Regions from separate parts of the Homo sapiens genome. Here regions 1, 2, 3, 5, 6 and 7 are each linked to region 4. The links are contacts of gene promoters, found by promoter capture Hi-C in human tissues and cell types (Jung and others, 2019). All regions are on one chromosome and are shown on one strand. The core of a region is centred on a gene start or on the middle of the fragment in contact, and the rest is flanking DNA. Distances in the headings are between cores, read along the strand shown. Region 1 has its middle 48 kb from the start of ADCY9. Region 2 holds the start of ZSCAN32 (zinc finger and SCAN domain containing 32). Region 3 overlaps SLX4 (SLX4 structure-specific endonuclease subunit). Region 4 holds the start of CREBBP (CREB binding lysine acetyltransferase). Region 5 holds the start of ZNF597 (zinc finger protein 597). Region 6 overlaps NLRC3 (NLR family CARD domain containing 3). Region 7 overlaps CLUAP1 (clusterin associated protein 1).

Region 1 (3,497 bases), core at 659-3,158, 280 kb before region 4:
CAAAGTGCTGGGATTACAAATGTGAGCCACTGGGCCCAGCCAATTAAAAAGCACTATTTTTAACCAAGGAGCTTTACTTGCTTTGTTTTCGTTTTTGTAGACAGATGCAGCATTAAAGATGAATGCATTTGAATGCCATCACTGTCATAGTTCAACATTTGACCTCTCTTTGGCAACCAAACTATATTTTATATATTTTGTTGTTGCACATTTTCTAGAGGAGCATAGGAGGATGGGGCTCATTTTTGGTCCTCATGGCTTGGAGAGCTTTCCTCTTCATGCTGGTGGGCCACACTTGTCTGGAGATTCTTTCCTCTTCTTTGAATCTGGACTACAATAGGACAAATTAACTTCAGTGGTCATACAAGTCATGAAGAAATGAATTTAATAGTGTATCAGTTAGGATTCTCTTATGACATGTACCCCAATGATCTGGAAGTAGTTTAAGCCAAAGAGAATAATTTATTTAAAAGATTCAGGGACATATGAGATCTAAGGCCGGGAATACAACTGTGTCTCAGGAAGGGACTTTAAGTAGGAAGAGGAAAGCCATCAAGAAGCCAGGCATCCCCTCAGTGTGCTTGCTGCGACGTGCACTCTGTGCAGAGTGGCTGTCCCTGCTTCCAGACCACCCAGAAGGCAAGAAAGGGCCAGCCTGAGACCCCCAGTTTGTAATCCCCTTCATTCAAGAGAACAGCCAAGGCCGGGTGTGGTGGCTCATGGCTCATCCAAGCACTTTGGGAGGCCGTGGTGGGAGGATCATTTGAGCCCAGGAATTTGAGACCAGCCTGGGCAACATAGTGAGACCCCACCTCTACAAAAAATACAAAAAATTTAGCTAAGCATGGTGGCACATGCCTGTAGTTCCAGCTACTCGAGAGGCTGAGGTGGGAGGATTGCTTGAGCCTGGGAAGTCAGAGGCTGCAGTGAGCAGTGATTGTGCCAATGCACTCCAGCCTGGGTGATGGAGCAAGACCATCTCAAAAAAAAAAAAAAAAAAAAAATAGATCAGGAGACCAGCGAAGACTCAGTGAGGATCTGTTTGTCTCATTTCCAAATGTGTCCTGGAGAACCAACGTTAGTACAGTCAACGGTGATCAGTTTGGAGTCGCAAAACACAAACTCCGGCTGTTGAAAGCTTGGCTTGTAGGAGGGGCCCACTTCCTCCAAAGGGACCTGCTTCAAATATCCCCCCTGCTAAACCAGAATCATTGCTGTTGGGATGACCTTTCTATCTCAGAAGGAACTAGACGACTCTGTAGAGATGGTGGCGGAGGCGGGATCTATGTCTGGAAGGGCCATGTAAAAAACATGGACCTGGCGTGTTTCTGGTCCTTATCACTTCTGAGTTGTCCGATTTTATAGAAGAGGCCTTAAAAGATGTAAGATTTGGCCAAGAACTCATCGTCTGCTTCTGCTCCAAAACCACATTCTACTAAAAAAAGGTCCTTACACTGAATTGTTTGAAGGTTTTTTGTTGTTGTTGTTGTAAAGGATGCAGACTTAAAAATTATTTTTGGAAGACAGTTTGCAAGCTATTAGTAGAGAATGCTAAGAAAAAGCTTTTTGGGGTGGATTTGTTTAAACAGGCCCCTAACTGATGAGAGAATGGCTGTTTTCATGTTCCTTGAGAACCGTCGTCTTTTAATAAGACAGCATCGATTCTGGAGTCAGAAGACTAGATTGGGTCTCAACTCTGACACCGGGTTTGTGGCTTTGGGCAAGTTCTTTAATATCTCTAACTCTCAGTTCTAATTCTGAGAAATGGGATAAGTATCATATTAAAATCTACTTCCTGGTGTCAGGAAGAGTAGATGAATTAATGCACATTTATGTACTTGGCATTCTTCTTTGCGCTTAAGCATTCAGAAAATAGTCTTACAAAAATGATTACGCCTGTTTGATATTAGTGAAGAGTTAATGAGAAAAGATCAAATTGTGCTTGAATGTTAATTTTTTTAAAGCATATTCTGTGAATAATATTTCTTTAAAAAGCATTTTGCTAATGTTGTCTATGTTTAGCTGTTTAATAAAAAGTTATATTTGTATTTTTAAAAGGAAAAAAAGTGGGCGTTTTATGTGTCATAAGAAAGGCACCCCTTGCCTACACCTTTTGATGTGGGTCATGAGATTTTTTGTTTTATTTTATTTTATTTTTGAAACAGAGTTTCGTTCTGTTGCCCAGGCTGGAGTGCAGTGGTGCAATCTCGGCTACCTGCAACCTCTGCCTCCCGGGTTCAGGCAATTCTCCTGCTTCAGCCTCCTGAGTAGCTAGGATTACAGGCATGAACCACCATGCCCAGCTAATTTTGTATTTTTAGTAGAGACGGGGTTTTGTCATATTGGCCAGGCTGGTCTCGAACTCCTGACCTCAGGTGATCCACCCACCTCAGCCTCCCAAAGTGCTGAGATTACAGGTGTGAGCCACCACACCCAGCCAGGTTTTTTGTTTTAAATTATAATAAAGTACACATGACATAAAACTTACTAACTCGGCTGGGTGTGGTGGTGCACGCCTGTAGGCCCAGCTACTCAGGAGGCTAAGGCAGAGGAATCGCTTGAACCTGGGAGGCAGAGGTTGCAGTGAGCCGAGATTGTGCCACTGTACTCCAGCCTGGGTGACAGAGTAAGACTCTGTCTCACAAAAACAAAAAAGAAAAACCAAAAAAACAAAAAAATTTACTAACTCAAGCATTTTAAAGTGTATAGCTAAATGGTAGTAACAACATTCACATTGATGTGTAACCATCACCAATCTGTCTTCAGAACTCTTTTCATCTTGTAAAACTGAAACTCTCTACCCATTAAACCATAACTCAGCCGCGTGCTGCACAGCTGGGAGGTTGAGGCAGGAGGATCCCTTGAGCTCAGGAGTTCAAGATCAGCTTGGGTAACATAGTGAGACCTCGTCTCTACAAAAAGTCTATAATTAGCCAAGTGTGGTGGCACATGCCTATAGTCTGAGCTACTTGGGAGGCTGAGGTGGGAGGATCGCTTGGACCCAGGAGGCTGAGGCTGCAATGAGATGTGATTGTACCACTTCACTCCAGCCTGGGTGATAAAGTGAGACCCTGTCTCAAAAATAAAATAAAATTAACAATAACTCCCCATCCTCCTCTTTGGCAATCACCATCCTACTTTCAGTCTCTAGGAATCTGACTCTTCTAGGTAACTAGAGTCATACAAATGGAATCATACAGCATTGTCTTATTTCATTTAAGATAATGTCCTCAAGGTTCATGCACGTTGTAGCATGTGTTGTGTTGCCCAGGCTGGCCTTGAACTCCTGGCCTTAAGCTATTCTCCTACCTCAGCCATCCCAGTAGCTGGGACTACAGGTGTGCACCACCATACCCAGCTAGAATTTCCTTGCTTTTTGTTTGTTTGTTTGTTTTGAGACGGAGTTTTGCTCTTAGTGTCCTGGCTGGAGTGCAATGGCGCAATCTCGGCTCACTGCAACCTCTGCCCCCTGGGTTCAAGCGATTCTTCTGCCTCAG
Region 2 (3,555 bases), core at 873-3,372, 480 kb after region 4:
CAATAAGCTAGAACTTCCAATGAAATGAAGTTCCCCAAAGTCCAACTGCTACCCAACAGGGTGACCCTATCTGCTAAGAATTCTGCTAGTAGGAAAACTAAGTTGGGTGGGGGAAGAGCTGACAGAAGGGATTTAAGAACCTTACAATTACTTCTGGTGACACAAGGTGCATAAAGGAATGGTAAGAACCTTGGTCCTCTGTTGCCTCACTGGGTATCAGTAGTTGGATTTTCTAAAAACCTGTTAATAACTCAGGATAGGTTCCCAGATAGAGGCTGGAAGCAACTTCTGAAGCCATCCAGTCCACTTCTGAGACTTAAATAGGGAGAGATCCAGATACCAAACATTACCCAGATGAAAAAGAAATCGGCCGGGCACGGTGGCTCACACCTGTAGTCCCAGCACTTTGGGAGGCCGAGGCGGGCGGATCACGAGGTCAGGAGATCGAGACCATCCTGGCTAACACGGTGAAACCCTGTCTCTACTAAAAATACAAAAAATTAGCCGGGCGCGGTGGCGGGCGCCTGTAGTCCCAGCTACTCGGGAGGCTGAGGCAGGAGAATGGCGTGAACCCGGGAGGCGGAGCTTGCAGTGAGCCGAGATAGCGCCACTGCACTCGGGCCTGGGCGAAAGAGCAAGATTCCGTCTCAAAAAAAGAAAAAAAAAAAAAAAGAAAAGAAAAAGAAATCCCCAGGATGATGGGAGAGGACCCTCCTTACCCACTGCTTTGGTTTCTTGGATGCTCTGTGAAAATCTTCCACGAGGGTCACAATCTCCTTGCTGCTCATTGGACATCGATGCCTGACCCGAGCCTGGATCTCCGGGGGCAGGATGGTCAGGAACTGCTCCATCACCAGAAGCTCCAAAATCTGCTCCTTGGTGTGCAGCTCGGGTTGCAACCACTGACGGCAGAGCTGTCGGAGCTGGGAGAGAGCCTCTTGGGGTCCAGACACCTCTTGATAACAAAAGCGTCTGAAGCTCTGGCGGCAGAGCTCAGGATCTGGGCAGTTTTTTTGCAGAGGAGGGCCCCGTTTCTCTTCTAGTTTGGCTATTATGTGTCTCTCTTGCTTGGAGGAAGCTTCAGTGTTGGAGCTTAAAGTTATCTCCATTTTAGCTGCCATTTTGGGCGTCAGGAGACAACTCTCTCCTTGTAAACGGGTTAAGCCTTTGGGATCATGACCCTGGAGAAGTCTCTGAATACTAGAAAGATTCTAGAAACGAAGGTTCTCTGAGGATGTTAGGGGGAACGGGATGCAGAGACAAAGCCTCACTTGCTAGCCTTTACTAGCCAAACTCAAGACAACGCGGTCCCTGGGAGTGGGAAGAGTTTTGTCTTCTTGTCAGTTTTTTGCAGTCTTGCAAAGGAGAAAAGTCATAACGTCCTAAAAGGACTCTGGGGAAAAAATACTTCTTTTATTTCAGTAGCAAGCACACAGGTCTCGGATTTAATGAGCAATACGCTCTAACCGGCGGGTGGAGCGGAATCCCTAGGAAAAGTTCAAGCTGTCGCAGGTAGCTTGCCCCAACTCTCCCGCATCCTGGCGGAAACCGACCGGGTGCATGTCGCCGGGTGCTAAACGGTAGAGCTAAGCGAGGCCACAGCGCCAGCCGGGGGTGTGAGGTAGCGAACAGCCTCCTGCACGCGAGCAAAGCGGCTGCTCGCTGCCGAGGCGCCGCAGGCCCAGTGGCTCCGGCCTCCAGGGCGGCCCCGCGGCCCAGCCAGCCCCAGGCCTGGCGAAGCTGCCGCAACCCGATGCGCAGCTGAACTCCACGCCCGGTGTGAGCTCGGACTGGCGACTGCGACACCGGTACCCCGAACAGCCCGGCGCCCCGCACCCACCTGCAGCCGACTCACCTCTCCGGGAACCCAAGACCGAGGGACTTAGGACCCGACACCGGCGAGCACGGGCTGGGGGCGGGGCCGATGCCACTCGCTGCGGAGACGCCCACTAGCTGCTGAGGACAACTACTGACAGGGCCCGCCTCCTGCCAAGGGCATTCTCTACCGTCTATTGGTTGCTGCGCCTGTCAATACCGTCGCAGTGCATCCCGGGAGCTGCAGTCCGGCAATTCGGCTTGCGGGCCTGCGCAGGGGCGTGCGTAATGGGCGGAGCGAATCGCGCCGCTGACTTCCGGCCCGGAGGCTGAGGGAGTTTGTGGAGTCGCGAGTGCTGGTGTCCGGTGAGTTCTCCGCTTCCTTGCGGCCGGCGGGATTAGCCGCTGGGCCCTGCGACGGCCGAGGAGCCCCTCCCCGCTGGGAGTCTTCTCCGAGGCGTTCGGGTCCGGCCCCGATGGGCGTCTCCTTGGGACAGGCAGCCTCCCTCAGGCCGGGCGTCCCCAGACGCGCCGCGATCACCGTGCCCCGCTCCCACCGTGCGGATCACCCCGAGCCTGAGCGCCGGCGCCCCGGGACCCCCTGGCCTTGACCCTGCTCATCTCGTCCCTGTCTCGCCCACTCCCTACTCATCCACAGTGCCTAGCCCTGGCACCGAGTGCGTTCTGAGTACTCAATAAATAGTTAACTAAGTGAAAAACCTATCAACCTGGCTCCCCATCCTCATGCTACATTTTTTTCCGAGTGTTTGGGCCATCGCTAGAGTGAAGTAAAATTTTCAGAGAACAGCATTTTAAAATTTAACGATGAGTGGGAGGTAAGGGGTCAAAAGGGGTCAAGAAGGGTGCAGGTTCCGCCTTCTGCATGAAGTTAGAAGAGCTTTTATTAAATTCTTCTTCAGCCAGGTAAGGCACAGGATGAACATAATGAAGGCAAGGGGTGCTGGTTCTAGTCCTGGCCTTGCTGCCTAGGAGCTGTGCTGTGTGATGCTTTAGGCAAGATACTTCATCGCTCTCAGTTTCTTTTTGGCTAGAAAGCAGTGCTAACAATAATAATGCCCTTGATTTCTCTATCTCTAGAAGCACTGAAATGTAAAGAGAATTTAAGTGAAGGCAGTTCAAGTTCCTTGAGAAAAGGGAACCCAAATCCATTTTTAAAATATAAAAAAATTTCTTTAATTTTTAAAAAACATTTACCATCATAACCATTTTTAAGTGTACAGCTCAGTAGTCCTGAGTATATTCATCTTGTTGTGCATGCTGGATCCATTTTAATACCACATGGTGAGGGTGTATCAGCCCCTGGAGAAAATGTAAATTACGATCTGCTTTAATCTGTGTTTTAAGTAGATAAAAACCAACACAAACTCATTAAAAAAGACTGCCTTCGCGGGTGCAGTGGCTCACACCTGTAATCCCAGCACTTTGGGAGGCCAAGGTGGGAGGATCACTTGAGCACAGGAGTTTGAGACCAGCCTGGGCAACATAGTGAAACTCCACCTCTACAAAAAATACAAAAGTTAGCTTCTATTTAAAATTATTTTTAAGGTCGGGCATGGTGGCTTATACTTGTAATCCTAACACTTTGGGAGGTTGAGGTGGGAGGATTGCTTGAGTTCAGGAGTTTGAGACCAGCCTGGGCAACAGAGTGAGACTCCATCTCTAAAGATAAAAAAACAAATAAAATTATTTTTAAAAGTTATTTATTAATTTTAAATTATA
Region 3 (3,744 bases), core at 322-2,821, 290 kb after region 4:
CACTTCTCAGCCAGTAAGTCAGTGTTTCCCAAACTTGCCTGGCTCCAGTGCTCACCTGGGCATGTGTTAAAAATCCACATCTGTGGACCCTTCTCCAGAACACGGAGCCGGCACCTCCAAAGGCCACAACTCATTCAGCAAGTATCGGCATGCCTTAAGATTGGACCAGGGTGGTTCTCCAGAATGTTAACCGTAGATTGACTGCAGGACCCAGCAATTCCACTTTTACCTGTATATCCAAAAGAATTAAAAACAGGGACTCAGACATGCATGTTCATAGAAGCGCTGTTCACAATCGCCAAAAGCTGGAAGCAACCCAAATGCCCGTCAGGAGATGAACAGGGAAACCAAACGTGGTCCATCTAGACCACTAGAAAATGGAATAGTGTTCAGCCACAAAGAGGAGTGAGGCACTGCCACACGCTACCGCGTGGACGACCCAGAAAACATGCTGCCGGGTGAGAGAAGCCAGACATAGAAGGTCATGTACTGTCTGCACTCATGGATATGAAATGTCTAGAATAGGCAAATCCAGAGAAAATGCAGGTTAGTGGTTGGCCTGGGTTGGAGGGAGGGGGAATGGGGAGTGACTGCTTATGGGATACAGGGTGTCCTTTTGGGGTGGTGAAAATGTTTTGCAAATAGATAGAGGTGATGGTTGTACAACATTGTGAATACTTAATGCCACTGAATTATTCCCTTTACGATTTTTTTATGTGAATTTCACCTCAATTAAAAAAAGAATCAGGTGGGACAAGTGTGAGAGGCTGTTAGGCCTGTTCTTCCTGGTCCTCCCAGGTGCAGGGATGCCACCTCCCTGCTCATTTCAGTCCCCGGGGAGAGTCAGAGCCCCAGGTGTCGGCCCCCTCGGTGCTGCTGCTCCCATCCAGGCACCTCCGGGGAGGGCAAGGACAGGCCGGGCTGGGCTGAGCATGACTGGGAGAAAGGCCAGGCTGTGAGTGAGCACCTGCCTGCGGCCTGGGGGCCCATTTCCTCCCAAAATCCAGATGAATGAGGCCACTGATAGTGTCCTCGGCCCTCAGGGGCTTCAGAAACACCTGGAGAGCTTCTTATAGCACGCCCGTGGCCCAGCCTGCCCCAGAGCCTTGCTTCGGGAGGGTGACTAAGAATTTGCATTTCTAACCAGTTCCCAGGCAGTGCTGTGAGAACAGCTGCAGGAGGCTGCACAGCAGATCTGAGGTGGGCTTCAGGACGACGCTGCGGCCACAGGAAGAATCGTGCTTTTCTCAGGAGACAGAGCCTGCCGCTTTCATCGGGGGCTCAAAGGGCTCCATGGTCATAAAAGGCAGAAGAACCAAAGTCTGACTGTTTCCAATGTGTCACCAGGCTGGAGTGCAGTGGGGCTATCTCGGCTCACTGCAACCTCCACCTCTCGGGTTCAAGGGATTCTCCTGCCTCAGCCTCCCGAGTAGCTGGGATTACAGGCACCCAGCACCACGCCCAGCTAATTTTTGTATTTTTAGTAGAGTCGGGTTTCACCATGTTGATCAGGCTGGTCTTGAGCTGCTGACCTCAGGTGATCCGCCCACCTCGGCCTCCCAAAGTGCTGGGATTACAGGCGTGAGCCACCTCGCCCAGCCTATTATTTTTTAAAGTAACAGCTTTATTTAGATATAATTCACATACCATAATATCCACCCTTTTAAAATGGACAGTTCAGTGCTTCTCAGTACATTCACAGTGTTGTACAATTGTCCCCACTCTCTAATTCTAGAACATTTTCATCATCTCAAAAATCCTGTACCCATGAGCAGTCTCTCACCTTCCCCTTCCCCCAGCCCTGGCAACCAAGAACCTTTCTGTCTCTATGGATTTGCCTGTCCTGGACATTTCATATAAACAGAGCCATATATAACTAATATGTGGCCTTTTGTGTCTGTGTCTGGCTTCTTTCAGTTAGCATACAGTTTTCAAGATTCATACATGTTGTAGCATGGATCAGTATTTTATTCCTTTTTATTCTTTTTTTTTTTTTTTGAGACGGAGCCTCTCTCTGTTGCCCAGGCTAGAGTGCAGTGGCACGATCTCGGCTCACTGCAACCTCCACCTCCTGGGTCCAAGCGATTCTCCCGCCTCAGCCTCCCGAGTAGCTGGGATTACAAGCGCCCATCGCCATGCCATGCCCGGCTAATTTTTTTGTATTTTTAGTACAGATGGGGTTTCACCATGTTGGCCAAGCTGGTCTCGAACTCCTAACCTCAAGTGATCCACCCACTTTGGTCTCCCACAGTGCTGGGATTACAAGCCTGAGCCACTGTGCCTGGCCTGTTTTTGAGTCAGGGGTCTTGCTCTGTCACCCAGGCTGAAGTGCAGTGGCGCAATTACAGCTCATTGTAGCCTCGACCTCCCAGGCTCAAGTGATCCTCCCACCTCAACCTCCTGAGTAGCTGGGACTACAGGCAGCTGCCACCATGCCCAGCTAATTTTTTTTTTTTAGTAGAGACTGGGTCTTGCTATGTTGCCCTGGCTTTGGGCATACATTCCTTTGTATGTCTAATACCCCACTGATGGTATGCCACATTTTGCTTATCCATTCATCTACTAGTGGACACACGGGTTGTTTTTAATTTGTGGTTATTAATAATGCCACTTAGGAATATTGATGTGCAAGTTTTCGTGTAGACATGTTTTCCTTCTTCTTGGTTCTGTACTTAGGAGTGGAATTGCTGGGTCATATGGCAACTGTGTTTAGCATTGTGAGGAACTGCGAGACTGTTTTCCAAAGTGACTGCACCATTTTAAATCTCCACCAACACTTGTTATTCTGTTTTTGTTGTTGTTGTTATTGTTTTGAGACAAGGTCTTGCTCTGTCGCCCAGGCTGGAGTGCAGTGGCGTGTTCATGGCTTGCTGCAGCCTCAACCTTCCTGGCTCAGGTGATCCTCCCACCTCAGCCTCCCGAGTAGCTGGAACCAGCCACAAACAGCTGCCCACATTGGTGACTTGGGCCACCACACCCTGCTAACTTTTTTTGTATTTTTTTTTTTTTTTTTTTGTAGAGATAGGGTTCTGCCATTTTGCCCAAACCCTCTGTGTTTTTTGTTATGGCCATCCTAGTGGGCGTGCAGTGGTATCTCACTGTGGTTTTGACTTGCATTTCCCTGATGACTAATGATGTCGGGCACCTTTTCATGTGCTTATTGGCCATTTGTAGATCTTCTCTGGAGAAATGTCTGTTCACATCCTTTGCCCTTTTTTTTTTTTTTTTTTGAGACAGAGTCTTGCTCTGTCGCCCAGGCTGGAGTGCAGTGGTGTGATCTCGGCTCACTGCAAGCTCCGCCTCCCAGGTTCACGCCATTCTCCTGCCTCAGCCTCCCAAGCAGCTGGGACTACAGGCGCCCGCCACCACGCCCAGCTAATTTTTTGTATTTTTAATAGAGACGGGGTTTCACCGTGTTAGCCAGGATGGTCTCGATCTCCTGACCTCGTGATCCGCCCACCTCGGCCTCCCAAAGTGCTGGGATTACAGGCGTGAGCCACCGCGCCCGGCCCCTTTGCCCATTTTTTAACTGGGTTTTTTTAAATTGATGAATTATTTTTAAAAAGCAAAACTGATGTCTAAGCCTGTTTGAAGAGTATCAGTGTGGCCCATTGTCTCAAGTTGTCACTGTGGGTCAGATATTTTTAAGTTTACATGCATAAGTTTTAGTCACGTGCCGGGCTGTTGGGTTCAGTGGCCCCAGGAGCTCTGTTCACCCGGCACCCGTGTTATACAAGGTGTGGT
Region 4 (3,309 bases), core at 104-2,603:
CCGCCACGCCCAGCTAATGTTTGTATTTTTGGTAGAGATGGGGTTTCACCATGTTGGCCAGGCTGGTCTTGAACTCCTGACCTCAGGTGATCTGCCACCGCGCCTGGCCAGGGAGTTGTTTTAAACAGATTTTCTCCCTCTCTTTTCGGGATGTTAACTCTGGTGCTGCGTGGGGAGCAACGTGGAGAGCAAAGAACACTTAAGTGAGTAGCTGCCACCATAGCCACCGGGACAGTGCGGGAGGAGCAGTCTCCCAGGTAAAGACCGTGGGTAGAGGGGCGCGTGGCGGGTGAGAGGGAGGAGTCCGCGCTGACTCACGGGTTTCTGGCTTAGGAAACAGTGGAGCTGCTGATACCTTTATGAGGAAGCCGGGCAAGTTTGGAGGGGCAGATAACTAACTGGGATGGGAACACCTCGGGTATTCGTAGAAGTGTCCCGCGGGCTGTGGTCTCGCGTGGGGGACTCCCCAGGCCCGCACCCCTGTCTGGGGCACCTGCGAGGCGCCAGGCAAGTTGCCTGGGGCGGGGAGTGCGGCCTGAGCGTCCAGGCTTAAGCCCCGATGCGCGGGCCCTTCTCCGCCCAGGCCGGCCCTCGCCACCCCGCTCTCACAGGTGAGGGTGTCTGCCCTGCCGCCTTGGGATGCGAACAGGCGTGAGGCCCCCTCACTCCCTAGTGTCACGAGGTAGGGCGGGACCCGAATCCCGGCCCTGCCACTTCCTGCCTCGACCACTTTGGAGCAGTTGCTCGCCCCCCGCCTCAGTTTCCCCATCCGCCCACCTCGTCGGCAGGACCCAAGGGCGGTCTGTAACCTGCAGAGGCCATTCCACTTCCCTGGCCGGCGGCGAAGGCTAGTGGCGCGGCCTGGGCTGGGGTCGCCCCGACCGTTCCCGACCGACGCCACCTAGGAGGGTCTGGGGAAGGGGACGCGAGGAGCTGGGAACACGCAGCGCCGCCCCAGCGGGACGGGCGGGCCCGGGCTGGCGTCGAATCCGCGCCCGAGAGCCCAGCCCGCGGCCAGGCCGCCGCTCCCGGAGCCCGCTGGGGCCCGGAGCCCCGGCCCTCTACGCCTGGTCGCCATCAGAACAAAAGCTGTGGCTCAGCCCGGAGCCCAGGCGCCCCGCAGGCCTGGCCCGCGCCGGGCCGCCAGCTTCCCTACGCTTGGCGGCCGCGCCTTCAGCCCTTCGGCCCGAGCACGCTCGGCTCTTTCCGCCACGGCCGGCGCAGGTGGAGGGGGCGGGGCGGGGGCCGTGCGTGGTGACGCCGCGGGGGGGTGACGCACCGGCGTGCCCCGCCCCCACCCCCTCCCCGTTCAGGCTCTGGAAAGAGAAGAAAAAAAACTTTCTTTTTTTTTTAATTGAGGAATCAACAGCCGCCATCTTGTCGCGGACCCGACCGGGGCTTCGAGCGCGATCTACTCGGCCCCGCCGGTCCCGGGCCCCACAACCGCCCGCGCACCCCGCTCCGCCCGGCCGGCCCGCTCCGCCCGGCCCTCGGCGCCCGCCCCGGCGGCCCCGCTCGCCTCTCGGCTCGGCCTCCCGGAGCCCGGCGGCGGCGGCGGCGGCAGCGGCGGCGGCGGCGGCGGAACGGGGGGTGGGGGGGCCGCGGCGGCGGCGGCGACCCCGCTCGGCGCATTGTTTTTCCTCACGGCGGCGGCGGCGGCGGGCCGCGGGCCGGGAGCGGAGCCCGGAGCCCCCTCGTCGTCGGGCCGCGAGCGAATTCATTAAGTGGGGCGCGGGGGGGGAGCGAGGCGGCGGCGGCGGCGGCACCATGTTCTCGGGGACTGCCTGAGCCGCCCGGCCGGGCGCCGTCGCTGCCAGCCGGGCCCGGGGGGGCGGCCGGGCCGCCGGGGCGCCCCCACCGCGGAGTGTCGCGCTCGGGAGGCGGGCAGGGGATGAGGGGGCCGCGGCCGGCGGCGGCGGCGGCGGCCGGGGGCGGGCGGTGAGCGCTGCGGGGCGCTGTTGCTGTGGCTGAGATTTGGCCGCCGCCTCCCCCACCCGGCCTGCGCCCTCCCTCTCCCTCGGCGCCCGCCCGCCCGCTCGCGGCCCGCGCTCGCTCCTCTCCCTCGCAGCCGGCAGGGCCCCCGACCCCCGTCCGGGCCCTCGCCGGCCCGGCCGCCCGTGCCCGGGGCTGTTTTCGCGAGCAGGTGAAAATGGCTGAGAACTTGCTGGACGGACCGCCCAACCCCAAAAGAGCCAAACTCAGCTCGCCCGGTTTCTCGGCGAATGACAGCACAGGTGAGGAGGGGGTCCGGGGCGGCGGGGGCCCGGGGCGCGCTGTCACCCCCACCTGAAAGAGAGCGTCCGGGGGTCGTGGTCGCGGATACCGATCGAGCCGGGAGCTCGGAGCAGGCCCCGCAGCCCGTTCCCCTCGCCCCGCGCGGGAGGGTGGAAGTTCGTCGCAGGACTGTCACTGGGCCCGAGTTGGTCAGCACACGCCCGGTGCACTCGGCCTCCCCGCACCCGATCAGCCCTCCTCGCGGGGACCCTAGTGGCACTCCAGGAGGGAAGAAGTAAAGTGCAGCGTGTGGGTTTGTTTGGTAATGTCCTACGCATCCATCCGCGGCCGTGTCCACACGCGTGGCCGTCCAGAGGAATGACAGCGGAGGGTACCTTTGATGCTTAGAGAAAGCAAGATCGCGGCCAAAGGTAGGGCAGTGTGTTTTCTGGATTGGCGACACATTGACCAGGCTGCATTCAGAGGACACTCACAGCAGCCGCCAGCTTGCGAGTTAGAACCGAAGTTTCTTGGAATGAGTGAGTTCCTTGGAAAGATGCTTAGTGCTTATTTTCAAAACTCCTTGTTTTGTGTGTGTGTGTGTGTGTGTGTGTGTGCGCGCGTGTGTGTTTTTAGTCAACTAGTCATTCCATTTTTCAAAACCCAAACTTCGTTAGCAAGATGTCATGAAAGTTGCTGTGGTGTGTTTCATTTCCATGTATAACTTCAAAAGAAAGTTAAACAGCAGGTTTAAGTTCATTTGGGCTGCAATCTCCATTTGAGTTTGTGTTGCTTTCACAGTGTAGATGTACAAAGAATTAAGGAATGTAGGAATTCCAATTTTTCAAAAAAATGGAGCAGGATACTGAATAAATCATCTTTTTGTTTGTTTCCTTTCATTAAACGGCTTCCCTGGAAACTTTCTTAAGTTATCATAGCTGCTTAAGAGAAGTATTTAGTTTTCTATTAATTCAGTAATTCTGGGTCCCACTGCGCTGGTTCATGGTAACATGAACTAGTTGTATTTCCTCTTTTAGAGCTCTCTCCTTTGCCGCAAAAACTTGTGTGCCGCTGCGAACAATTCCATCTCCAGCG
Region 5 (3,341 bases), core at 770-3,269, 440 kb after region 4:
TGGATCATGAGGTCACGAGATCGAGACCATCCTGGCCAACATGATGAAACCCCATCTCTACTAAAAATACAAAAAAAAAAAATTAGCCGGACGTGGTGGCGGGCACCTGTAGTCCCAGCTACTCAGGAGGCTTAGGCAGGAGAATCATTTGAACCCCGGAGGCAGAGGTTGCAGTGAGTCAGGATTGTGCCACTGCACCCCAGTCTGGCTACAGAGTGAGACTGTCTCAAAAAAAAAAAAAAAAAAGAGATAAGCACAAACCAAGAAGGGAAAGATGACTACGTGAACACCACAGTGACTCAACCATGAACATCTCCTTTACTTACACCTTCATATACAGGCTATTAGCTCTTCTTCAACATATATGCTTTGGACTGGTCTAGCCTGTAGGCAAGTTTGTTCTTACCATTCTTCCACCTGTCCTGGAAGCACCTTTACTGGGACTTCACAGCTACCTCTTTTGTGATCCATCCCCACAAGGTCTAGCTCTTAGTTAGCTGTCAAGAGATATCATTTGTGGCAGATACTGCTAGTTTCTTATCTAACTTATTTTCCACATCTCTTTTTTTCATTTGTAACAAAGCCCTAATTTTGTGCAGGTAGATTATCAAGGGAGGCTAGGTCCTTCCCCTAGTGACAGGGGCTGAAGCATGATGGGCCCCAAACAATTATTTATTCTTGGTAATAACTAGTTTAGGATGGGTACATGACACAATACATGTCTGTATATTTTACCTGGATTCTATTGTCAACGTTACCAACATGCTTAGGGTGGCAGAGAAGCACTGGGACCTTGATGTTGTCACTGGGCCACCGAATTAACCAACCTGTAACTGCTCTTTGAACATCCTTTCGGTGGGTTTTCTGTTACTTGTAGCTGAAACTATCCTATCAGATATTCCACAAAATCACATTACCTAAGTTGTCAAATCTCCTAATATTGTTTTAATAACCATGCAGCCATTCATTAAGCTTTTAGATACAGGAATGTGCCTGGCACTGGAATAAGGAAATATGTTGAGACTTTTCAGGCTTTTCTATCAAGGTACCTATCATTTTCGTCTTTTTTTTTCCCCAAACACCTTTATAAACTGGCAATTTCTTTCACTTACATTATCTTATAATCTTTGAAATTACCCTCTGAGTTAGCCCAGAGAGGCACTCTGAGCTGTTTGCAGCTGAGGAAAGCAAAGTTGTAAACTGGCCAAGATTACCAACCAATCAGTGGCAGAGCTTGGGGAGGAGCTCAATTTTCCAATTCCAAATGCCTACACCAGGGCACTCCCTCCTCCCCCAGCACACAATAGGAAATGACTGGCTCTAGGGTAGGCTGCATGTGAGGTATCCGGGGGCGAACAACGTCCTGCGACGCTAACCTATGGCTCTATTCTCGCGTGGGATCCTGTGACTAGGAAGCTGAAGCAGCTCGCTTAGGCTGCAGCTGCGGGTACAATACGTAATGCCTCTATAACACTTTGAGTCAGAGTCCAGCAACCTGGCCTACACCGATGTGAACGTTGTGAACGTACACAAAGATACTCCTTCATGTTCCACGGCCCCACCATCCGCTCAAGACACAAAGGACAGCTCAAGCCCAGGCTAGGCCCGAACCCCCGCCCTCTCAATCACCTTGCTCTGGCCAGACCGAAATTTCAGGCCTACAGGGCACTGTTGGCCGAACCCACATTTTGTTACCGATTTTCTTTCGAGTTCCGGTGTCTCCCAGTCTTCTTTCTGTCCTTCTTCTCGGAAACATTACGTCCCCCTGGGGTCACCCTAAGACTCTACTTCAGCAGGCAAACAGGCCCGGAGCTCACGGAGGAGACCCCGCCAGCGGAAGCGGAAATGGTTGCTTAGAGAAAAGGAGGAAAACTACCTCTCGCAGCTGCCCAGTGGCTACAGGTCCTCGGTTAAGGTGTTCAATTGGTCAACACAAAAGAAGGACTTCCCCTTCGGGAGAACTTCGACCAATCAAAGGGCAGGATGGCGGAGAGGGCTGAGGGCGGGTCGCTTCCGGCGGCTTTTCCCGCAGCTCCTGCGTAAAGGAGCATGAGAGCGTGGGAGTTTTGCAGTGGCCGTGGCGTTCTTCGTCGCGTCTCGGTCGGGCGTCGCTTTCTGCAGCTCCTGTCAGGGAGCGCGAGGCCTGTTATTAACCGCGGAGCGGTAAGTGGGCCCCTTTCGAGGCCGGGCCAAGAGGAGGAGCAGTCGGCGTAGGTTTTTAAGGGGGGGTTCGGAGGGAATCGAGGGAGGCTAGGGGTAGTGGAGGAACTTGGCAGCGGAATTGGTCCCTTTAAGAACTGTTCTCTCCCCCCGCAGCTTTGTCACGAAGTCCCTGTGGCGTCTTGAAGAAGGCATTCCCCACCCGCCAAATGGCGTCCATGCCCCCGACGCCCGAGGCCCAGGTGAGTCGAGGTACCTTTTTCGTCCAAGTTTATTGCTGCTTTCGGTCTCTGCCTGACCCCCTCCTTTGGAGGAGAGTTGGGCATGCCTGTTGTGGTAGGAGTGCTCCTGAGCCCCAAATAGCCCTTTGACCAAGTGTTCTTCGTTCCAAGACCACACACATAATGGTTTACCAACTTCCTTCTTTCAGAACTACCAACTGGGAGCAGGGACCTGTGGAGGAATCTCTGAGAGAGTTTCTCAATGTCTTATCTGTTTGTTTTGTTTTGTTTGGAGATAGGGTCTGGCCTTGTCGCTGGAGTGTTGCTTGTCTGGCTGGAGTGCAGTGCTGATATCATAGCTCCGTCTGGAACTCAGGGAATCCTTACGCCTCAGCCTCTCGAGTATCTGAGAGGCGCGCATACCACAGTGTCTGGCTACTTTTAAAAGTTCTTTTTTTTTTTTTTTTGATACAGAGTCTCGCTCTGTCGCCCAGGCTGGAGTGCAGTGGCGCGATCTCGGCTCACTGCAAGCTCCGCCTCCCGGGTTCATGCCATTCTCCTGCCTCAGCCTCCCGAGTAGATGGGACTACAGGCGCCTGCCGCCACGCCCTGCTAATTTTTTGTATTTTTAGTAGAGACGGGGTTTCACCGTGTTAGCCAGGATGGTCTCAATCTCCTGACCTTGTGATCCGCCCGCCTCGGTCTCCCAAAGTGCTGGAATTACAGGTGTGAGCCACTGCGCCCGGCCTAAAACTTCTTTATGGAGATGGAGTCTTGCTGCTTTGCCAAGGAACTCCTGGCCTTCAGCTATCCTCCCACCTCGGCTCCCCAAAGTGCTAGGATTAAAAGTGACTTTCTGGAATGGTTCCCAAAATTACAGATTTGGTACTTCTCCAATTTGAATGAATTTTTAAATTAAGCACATTTCTAGACTCCACACTCGTTGAGTAATAATAAATC
Region 6 (3,548 bases), core at 457-2,956, 320 kb after region 4:
TTTTGCAAGGTGGAGGTGCTTGAACTTGGTGTTGCTGGGAGTATTTATACCATGGAAAGTGGCAGATACTACAAATCAGTTTGCTAGCATTTGTTTTTTGTTTTGTTGTTGTTTTGAGACATGGTCTCACTCTGTCGCTCAGGCTGGAGCGCAGTGATGTCATCATGGCTCATTGCAGCCTCAACCTTCTAGGCTAAATCCTCCCTCCTCAGCCTCCCAAGTAGCTTGGACTACAGGTGCGCCACCTGACTAATTTTTATGTTTTTCGTGGAGACAAGATCTCCCTATGTTTCCCAGGCTAGTCTCAAACGCCTGGTTTCAAGTGATGCTCCCGCCTTGGCCTCCCAAAGTGCTGGGATTGTATAGGCATGAGCCACCACGCACAGCCCAGTTTTTGAAATTTTGTTTTTCCTGGGAGCCAGTTTACCAGTACACCACTGGCTGCCATCTGCATGTTAGGCTTCCGAGATTTCCATTTTCTTTGCTGTGCTGTTTGTGTAGAAGCTGTTGTGCTGGATTCTGGTTAAACTTTTTCCTGAGACCCTTTGCCATGATGAGGGTCTGTCCTCCCACTCTGGCCCTACGCTGCCCAGGCTCAGGGGCTCTGCTGTGCCTGGCATTCTGCTCCAGGGGTCACCTCATCTCCACCTATGTCCAGACCCTGATGATGTGGGGGAGCCTAGAGGATTAATCACGGGCACAGCGTTGAGGAAGAGGCCATGAGATGTGCATGCCTAAAATAACCACTCCTCTCCCTTTCCTTGGGCAGCTTGGCGGAGAACCAGATCAGTAACAAAGGGGCCAAAGCTCTGGCCAGATCCCTCTTGGTCAACAGAAGTCTGACCTCTCTGGAGTAAGTAAGGACAACCAAGGCCGAACTTTTGCCATTGGAACCAGAAGAGTTGTGAGGCATCTTGTGAAGTCCCCTCCCTCCTAGGAAATGACTTGGGTCTTACCTGTCTGTTCTTCCCTGATTCCCATGATTCAGCCCCTGGGTAGCATCTGGACATAATATCCATACTTCATTTGGAGCAGGTTCTAAGACTCCTGTGGGAATAAGACACAGGGAGGCCACACCTTAGCGCACATGCCTTCCTGGTGGGGCAGAAGGACAGCCGGGCTGAACCATGGCTCCTCAGTTGCCGGGCTACAGCCAGGGACACACCAGATGTTTGCCCTGCATCTGGGGCCATCATTCTCATCTCCACATTTGGCCCAAGCCCACTAGTCCATCAGGTGCTGCTTTCTTTCCCCCAACACCTGAGACAGTCGTGGGGAAACTCCTTCCTTGTTTATATAAGGATCTCTGCCCTGGTTCCACCAAACATGAGATCCTAAGCCCTTACACATTCCCTTAGAGGATCACGAATTTCAAGGTCAATGCAGTTTCTGTTTCCCCTTCCCTCTCTGGGAGACAGATGAAGGAGGTGTCTCTTTCTCTCTTCCTTCAGCCTCCGCGGTAACTCCATTGGACCACAAGGGGCCAAGGCGCTGGCAGACGCTTTGAAGATCAACCGCACCCTGACCTCCCTGAGGTGTGTGTCACCTGCTCCCTGTGTTGTGACCCCAAGAGAGGGCCCAGAAAACCCTCTCCTCAGGCACCACCTATGAGAATGGGAGGTGATTCACAATGGCAGGCATGGGGCCGGGCACAGTGGCTCACATCTGTAATCCCAACCCTTTGGGAGGCTGAGACAGGTGGATCGCTTGAGGTCAGGAGCTCGAGAGCAGCCTGGCCAACATGGCGAAATGGCATCTCTACTAAAAAACAAAAATTAGCTGGCGTGGTGGCAGGTGCCTGTAATCCCAGCAACTCGGGAGGCTAAGGTAGGAGAATCGCTTGAGTCTGGGAAGCAGAGGTTGCAGTAAGTTGAGATCGCGCCACTACACTCCAGCCTGGGTGACAGAGTGAAACTCTCTCAACAAGCAAGCAAACAAAGATGGCAGGCATGGGATACTGGCTCCCATCCCATTGGGTACTGGGGATCTTATGCCCTACGCAAGTTTCCAGGGTCCAGCTCTTCCCTAGACTTGAGCCTGTGTGTGTGGCCTGAGCAGGGGACAGAGTTGTGATGTGGTTTGTTACGTCTCTTTTTTTTTTTTTTTTTTTTTTTTTTTTTTTTTTTTGAGACGGATTCTTTCTTTGTCACCCAGGCTGGAGATCTTGTCTCACTGCAACCTCTGCCTCCTGGGTTTAAGCGATTCTCCTGCCTCAGCCTTCCAAGTAGCTGGGATTACAGGCTCCTGCCACCACGCCTGGCTAATTTTTTTGTATTTTTAGTAGAGACGAGCTTTCACCATTTTGACCAGGCTGGTCTCGAGCTCCTGCACTCAAGCCATCTGCCTGCCTTGGCCTCCCAAAGTGCTGGGATTACAAGTGTGAGTCACCGAGCCCAGCCAGTTATGTCTCTTTTAAAAGCCTGTGGTTATATCTATACTTAGCTGAGTGGGTACCACTTTTCTGTTCTGTTTTCATTTATTTATTTATTTATTTATTTATTTATTTATTTATTTATTTATTTTTATTAGGGTGAAATTCATGTACCATAAAATTGACTGTTTTAGGCGGGTCCCAGAGGCTGATGCCTGTAATCCCAGCACTTTGGGAGGCCAAGGCAGGTGGATCACTTGAGGTCGGGAGTTCGAGACCAGCCTGGCCAACATGGTAAAACCTCATATCTACTAAAAAAAAAAAAGAAAAGAAAAGTACAAAAAGTTAGCCAGGCATGGTGACAGGTGCCTGTGGTCCTAGCTACTCAGGAGGCTGAGGTTGAGTTGAGCCCGGGAGGCGGAGGTTGCAGTGAGCCAAGATCGCGCCACTGCACTCCAGCCTGGGCGACAGAGCGAGACTCTGTCTAAAAAAAACCCTGACTGTTTTAAAGTGTACAGTTCAGTGGCATTGAGCAAATTCACAATGTTGTGCCACCATCACATCTGTCCAGTTCCAGAATATTTTCATCACCCCTGAAGGAGACCTCATACCCATAAACAGTCACTTCCCATTCTCCCCTTTCCCCAGCCCCTCACAATCACCAATCTGCTTCCCATCTCTAAGGATTTACCTATTCTGGACATTTCATGTAAATAGATTTATATAGGCTCGCCTTTGGTGTGCGGCTTTCCTCATTGAGCATGATGTTTTTAAGCTTCATCCGTGTGGTACCATGTGTCAATGCTTCCTTCCATTTTATTTTAACTTTTTTTTTTTTTTTTTTTGAGACGGAGTCTGACTCTGTCACCCAGACTGGAGTGCAGTGGCGTGATCTTAGCTCACTGCAACCTCTGCCTTCCAGGTTCAAGCACTTCTCCTGTCTCAGCCTCCCGAGTAGCTGGGATTACAGGCATGTGCCACCACACCCAGCTAATTTTTGTATTTTTAGTAGAGATGGGGTTTCACCATGTTGGCCAGGCTGGTCTCAAATTGCTGACCTCAAGTGATCCACCCACCTCGGCCTCCCAAAGTGCTGGGATTACAGGTGTGAGCCACTGTACCCAGCCTCTTCCCTCTGTTTTAAGGCTGAATCATATTCCACGGGATGGACAGACCA
Region 7 (3,762 bases), core at 209-2,708, 350 kb after region 4:
CACCTTCCTCTCCAGCTGCTCTGCCCTGTCTCTCTCCCCTCACACAAAGCTCCTGAGCGAGTCGTTGAACTCACTGTCCACACCTGTGCCCCTCACGACTGCTTCAGTTCCCCCGGGCTCTCACCTACTGACCCCAGCACTGCTCCTGTCAAGAAGGAAACATTCAACGGACTGGGATCGATTCTCAGGCCTCATCCTGCTTGAGCTGTGGAATCACCCCTTCATCCTTAAAACCCATCTTCTCCATCCCCCAGGGCCCCTTCTCTAGTCCAGGTCCCCCTTCCTCACTGCTGACGCCCCTCAGCCTCCTCTGCCTGCCCCTTCCTCCCGGACCTCTGCAGGGCAGATGCAGCTCAGGACCTTGGGTCGCCTCTCTTCTCATTCTACTTGCTCTCCCTAGGCAGTCACATCTATCCTTGTGGCTTAGATACCAACCAAATAAGGGTGGCTCCCAAAATTCAATCTCTAGCCCAGACGTGGCCCTTGAACTCCAGACTTAAATTCCACCTGGCTACTCAACCCTAGCATGTGGCTGTCACATTCAGAATGTCCAAAATCAAACTTTCGATCTGCCTTCCAAGCCCCTTTGTCAAGTCGGCCCCATCTCAGAAAATGAAACTCTGCTTTCTGCTGATTAGACCAAGCCCAGGCACCCTCATTTTTCTCTTTCTCTAACAGCCTATGTCCAATCAATTCACAAAACCTGATGGTTCTTAGAGAGACCCAGGACCTGACCATTTCTCAACACCTCTGCTGCCACACCTTCGGCCAAGCACCGTCACCTCTGACCTCCACGGGTGCAGGCGCCTCCTAACTGGCTTCTCTCAAACAGGGATCATCAGCTCTTGACCCTTCTGGGCTCATGATTCTTCAGGGCCTTCCCCTCACACTCAGAGAAAACAGAGTCTTCATCTCACCCTGCAAAGCTCTGCATGGCCCCTGCTGCCTCTCGCACTCACCCACAATCACACCAGCTGCCTCTGCTCCTCGATGCGAGGAGTGCATTCCACATGCCCAGGTGCCGCCAACCCATGCGCTCGCTCCCTCCACTCAGGCCCTGCTCAAACACCACCACGTCAGGGGCCTTCACTGACCTCGCAGAAGACGCCACCCCCTCCTTGTTCCCTGTCACTCCCTGTCCCCTGAAGCTGTTATTCCTCCTGTTAACACCATGAGCCCTGATCCGACAATCCATCATTATTGCTGGGGTGTGAGCCATGAAGCAGGGGCTTGCCTCTGCCCCTGCTGCGTTCCCCATAATCCACGACAGCACTGGCATGTGGCAGGCACTCAACAGACACGTGTTGGATGCCTGAACACGTAAAGCATGGAACCCTGTGCCTGGAGGGCGGCATGGACACAGCCTCCTTGAAATAAACAAGTGACCACCAGGCATAAAGCTCAGCTGCGACTAATGCATTCGCTCTGAGGAGAGAGAAGGCAAACCCTGGAGAAGAGGCAGGCGGTGCTGCCTCAGCATTGCCAGCACCCACGCCACACTCCCTCTGCTTCTGTCTTGGGTGGGCAAGACGGAGAGACGCTGTATACCATCCACACCCGAGCTTGTTAGGAAAATTATTTTCCAGTTGCTCTCTCTGCTTCTCTACAGACTGTGCCCTGTAAATTCAGGGCACATGGAGGCAGCCTGGGGTCAGTCTCTGTTGAGTCGCCCTTTGCTGTGTGGGCCGAGCAGCACTGCCAGGGACGCAACAAAGAACGTAGGCTTGAGCAATGGGCGGCAGAGCCCTGATGACTGGACCTCACTGAGGACCCCTAGAATCCCCTTTTGCTTAAGTGCTCCAGGGAGTTATCCACTCAGTAAAGCTCAAGGCAGCTTATGTCTCAGCCTCATGCCTGGCACCTCGAGGGCCTGGTCTGGGGACAGTGCTGCTTCACCATTCCGTCCCCAGCACAGAACAGGGAGGGGGGTTGGTCCTGAGCCCGGCCCTCGGCGTCCTCCTTCATTTCTAGGTGGCGGCCCAGGGCCTGAGGATGGCCCGGCCTGAGCTTTCCCCGCCTCCAGGCTCCGTGCCTGCGCCTCCACTTTAGCACAGGGGCCTTCAGTGATCCCGCTGTCACCACAGGATCTCTTTTGAGTGGCCTTTTTGCCCAGGAGAGAGGAAGCATCACTCCTAGGGAGAGGCCCCTGGCTGGCCCCGGGAGGGCTGACAGACACCCACAAACACATGAGGCAGAACAGAAAACCAACCTGCTTCTTGGAGCTGGAAGTCTTGCATTTACCTAAGAGAGCTGGTGCTGCTTCCATCTTTGGAAAGCGAGAATGGAAAGAACAGTGAGAAGGCAAAAAAAGCAGAGCAAGCACATTCACTTGAAAAGAGATGAGCCATCCACGAGCAACGAAGAGTCCAGAGCCTCATGAGGCCAAACCCTGCCACGCATCGAGGCACGGCCGGGCTGACCATAGACGGCTCCCTGGCTGCTGACAGCAACTCAGCCACTCCCATCTATGGGGACAGCCAAACCCAGAGTGCACAGAACCACTGAGGGGAGCGGGGGACTTACATTGTCATCGGAGTCTCCACCTTGCATCGTGCCCACAATGCGTTTGCCAGGTCTTCCTGAGAACAACAAAAGCATGAAGAAGTCATAAAAATCTTGGAAAATAAAGCAGGAAATAGCATTCAAGATTTGTTTTCTGGCCAGGCATGTTGGCTTTTGCGTATAATCCCAGGAATTTGGGAGGCTGAGACAGGAGGCCAGGAGTTTGAGGCCAGCCTGGGCAACATAATGAAACCTCATTTCTACAGAAATTTTTTTAAACATTAGCCAGGTATGGTGGTTCACACCTGTAGTCTCAGCTACTCGGGAGGCTGAGGCAGGAGACTCGCTTGAAACCAGGAAGCAGAGGTTGCAGTGAGCTGAGATCGTGCCACTGCACTCTAGCGTGAACGACAGAATGAGATTCTGTCTCCAAAAAAAAAAAAAAAAAAAAAAAAAAAAGCAACTGTGCTCCAAACATTAACAGGTGGTAGATAAGAAATGTTTTTAAAGGCAAATATAGGAGAATTTTATAGTATTAAAATAAAAATTTATGGAACCTTTGACCTAAGAATTTGACTTTTAATGATGCAACCTAAAGATATGCAGACATGCAGAAAGATGTATATACAAGGAAAAGAGGGGAAATATCAATGCGAGAACGCCCAGTAAATCATGGGTACAGTCCTGCTAGGAATATGACATAGCCATTAAAAAGTAGGGGGCAGGCCAGGAGTGGTGGCTCAGGCCTGTAATCCCAGCACTTTGGGAGGCCGAGGCGGGTGGATCACCTGAGGTTGGGAGTTCGAGACCAGCCTGGCCAACATGGTGAAACCCCGTCTCTACTAAAAATACAAAAATTAGCTGGGTGTGGTGGCACGGGCCTGTAACCCCAGCTACTTGGGATTGCAGGAGAATTGCTCCCTCCGGGAAGCAGAGGTTGCAGTGAGCCAAGATCATGCCATTGCACTCCAACCTGGGGACCAAGAGCGAGACTTTGTCTCAAAAAGAAAAAAAAAAAAAATTAGGGGGCAGATCTATTGCTGACAGAGGAAGAGTTCCAATTGTACTTAATTTTTAAAAACAAAAGCAAGTTGCAGAACCATACATACCGTCTGGTTGCACTCAGGTTAAATTTTTTTCAGGTGATCTTTGTATGTGTATGTGTGTGCGTATGTATATGTACAGAAAGGTAATCTGTAAAGACACACCCACCCTGGCCACTAGCCATGAGCCCTCCCAGGTGGGAGTGGGACATGAGGA

The links. The method cuts DNA at HindIII sites, captures the fragments that hold promoters and counts their contacts. A contact is called where the count stands out against the background at its distance.
Region 1: a fragment that was not itself captured here is called in contact with the fragment with the promoter of CREBBP in region 4 in 2 of the 25 tissues and cell types used here (IMR-90 fibroblasts and aorta).
Region 2: a contact is called between the fragment with the promoter of ZSCAN32 here and the fragment with the promoter of CREBBP in region 4, in 1 of the 25 tissues and cell types used here (thymus).
Region 3: a contact is called between a fragment that was not itself captured here and the fragment with the promoter of CREBBP in region 4, in 1 of the 25 tissues and cell types used here (lymphoblastoid cells).
Region 5: a contact is called between the fragment with the promoter of ZNF597 here and the fragment with the promoter of CREBBP in region 4, in 1 of the 25 tissues and cell types used here (heart right ventricle).
Region 6: a contact is called between a fragment that was not itself captured here and the fragment with the promoter of CREBBP in region 4, in 1 of the 25 tissues and cell types used here (lymphoblastoid cells).
Region 7: a fragment that was not itself captured here is called in contact with the fragment with the promoter of CREBBP in region 4 in 1 of the 25 tissues and cell types used here (dorsolateral prefrontal cortex).

Annotation. Positions count from the first base shown.
Region 1 is chr16:4,162,598-4,166,094 of GRCh38, reverse strand. No RefSeq gene overlaps it. Among named protein-coding and RNA genes, the nearest start is that of ADCY9, 48 kb to the right of the region's middle. The HindIII fragment of the contact is 3,036 bases long and covers 391-3,426 here.
Region 2 is chr16:3,399,571-3,403,125 of GRCh38, reverse strand. ZSCAN32 (zinc finger and SCAN domain containing 32) reads left to right here and starts at 2,122. Exons shown (of 7, transcript NM_001284527.2): 1 at 2,122-2,181. It overlaps ZNF174 (zinc finger protein 174), which reads right to left and starts at 1,911. Exons shown (of 3, transcript NM_003450.3): 1 at 720-1,911. The coding sequence starts at 1,121. LOC105371059 (a long non-coding RNA gene) reads right to left here. Exons shown (of 4, transcript XR_007064949.1): 4 at 3,457-3,495. RefSeq lists silencers at 1,565-1,784, 2,335-2,484 and an enhancer at 1,862-2,361. The HindIII fragment of the contact is 10,964 bases long and covers 1-3,555 here.
Region 3 is chr16:3,585,072-3,588,815 of GRCh38, reverse strand. All of the region lies in intron 12 of SLX4 (SLX4 structure-specific endonuclease subunit), which reads left to right. Among named protein-coding and RNA genes, the nearest start is that of NLRC3, 9.5 kb to the right of the region's middle. RefSeq lists an enhancer at 1,339-1,408. The HindIII fragment of the contact is 6,051 bases long and covers 1-3,744 here.
Region 4 is chr16:3,878,757-3,882,065 of GRCh38, reverse strand. It overlaps CREBBP (CREB binding lysine acetyltransferase), which reads left to right and starts at 1,353. Exons shown (of 31, transcript NM_004380.3): 1 at 1,353-2,234. The coding sequence starts at 2,150. RefSeq lists silencers at 878-1,427, 1,448-1,497, 1,835-2,144, 2,185-2,234, 2,315-2,364 and an enhancer at 1,098-1,674. The HindIII fragment of the contact is 21,091 bases long and covers 1-3,309 here.
Region 5 is chr16:3,442,182-3,445,522 of GRCh38, reverse strand. It overlaps ZNF597 (zinc finger protein 597), which reads left to right and starts at 2,019. Exons shown (of 4, transcript NM_152457.3): 1 at 2,019-2,163; 2 at 2,317-2,402. The coding sequence starts at 2,370. It overlaps NAA60 (N-alpha-acetyltransferase 60, NatF catalytic subunit), which reads right to left and starts at 1,843. Exons shown (of 8, transcript NM_001083601.3): 1 at 1,686-1,843. RefSeq lists an enhancer at 1,610-1,759. The HindIII fragment of the contact is 11,416 bases long and covers 310-3,341 here.
Region 6 is chr16:3,554,898-3,558,445 of GRCh38, reverse strand. NLRC3 (NLR family CARD domain containing 3) reads left to right here. Exons shown (of 20, transcript NM_178844.4): 7 at 770-853; 8 at 1,452-1,535. It overlaps LOC101929732 (a long non-coding RNA gene), which reads right to left. Exons shown (of 4, transcript XR_007064953.1): 3 at 957-1,047. Among named protein-coding and RNA genes, the nearest start is that of NLRC3, 21 kb to the left of the region's middle. RefSeq lists an enhancer at 3,458-3,548. The HindIII fragment of the contact is 4,749 bases long and covers 1-3,548 here.
Region 7 is chr16:3,531,603-3,535,364 of GRCh38, reverse strand. It overlaps CLUAP1 (clusterin associated protein 1), which reads right to left. Exons shown (of 12, transcript NM_015041.3): 11 at 2,524-2,579. Among named protein-coding and RNA genes, the nearest start is that of CLUAP1, 32 kb to the right of the region's middle. The HindIII fragment of the contact is 7,388 bases long and covers 1-3,762 here.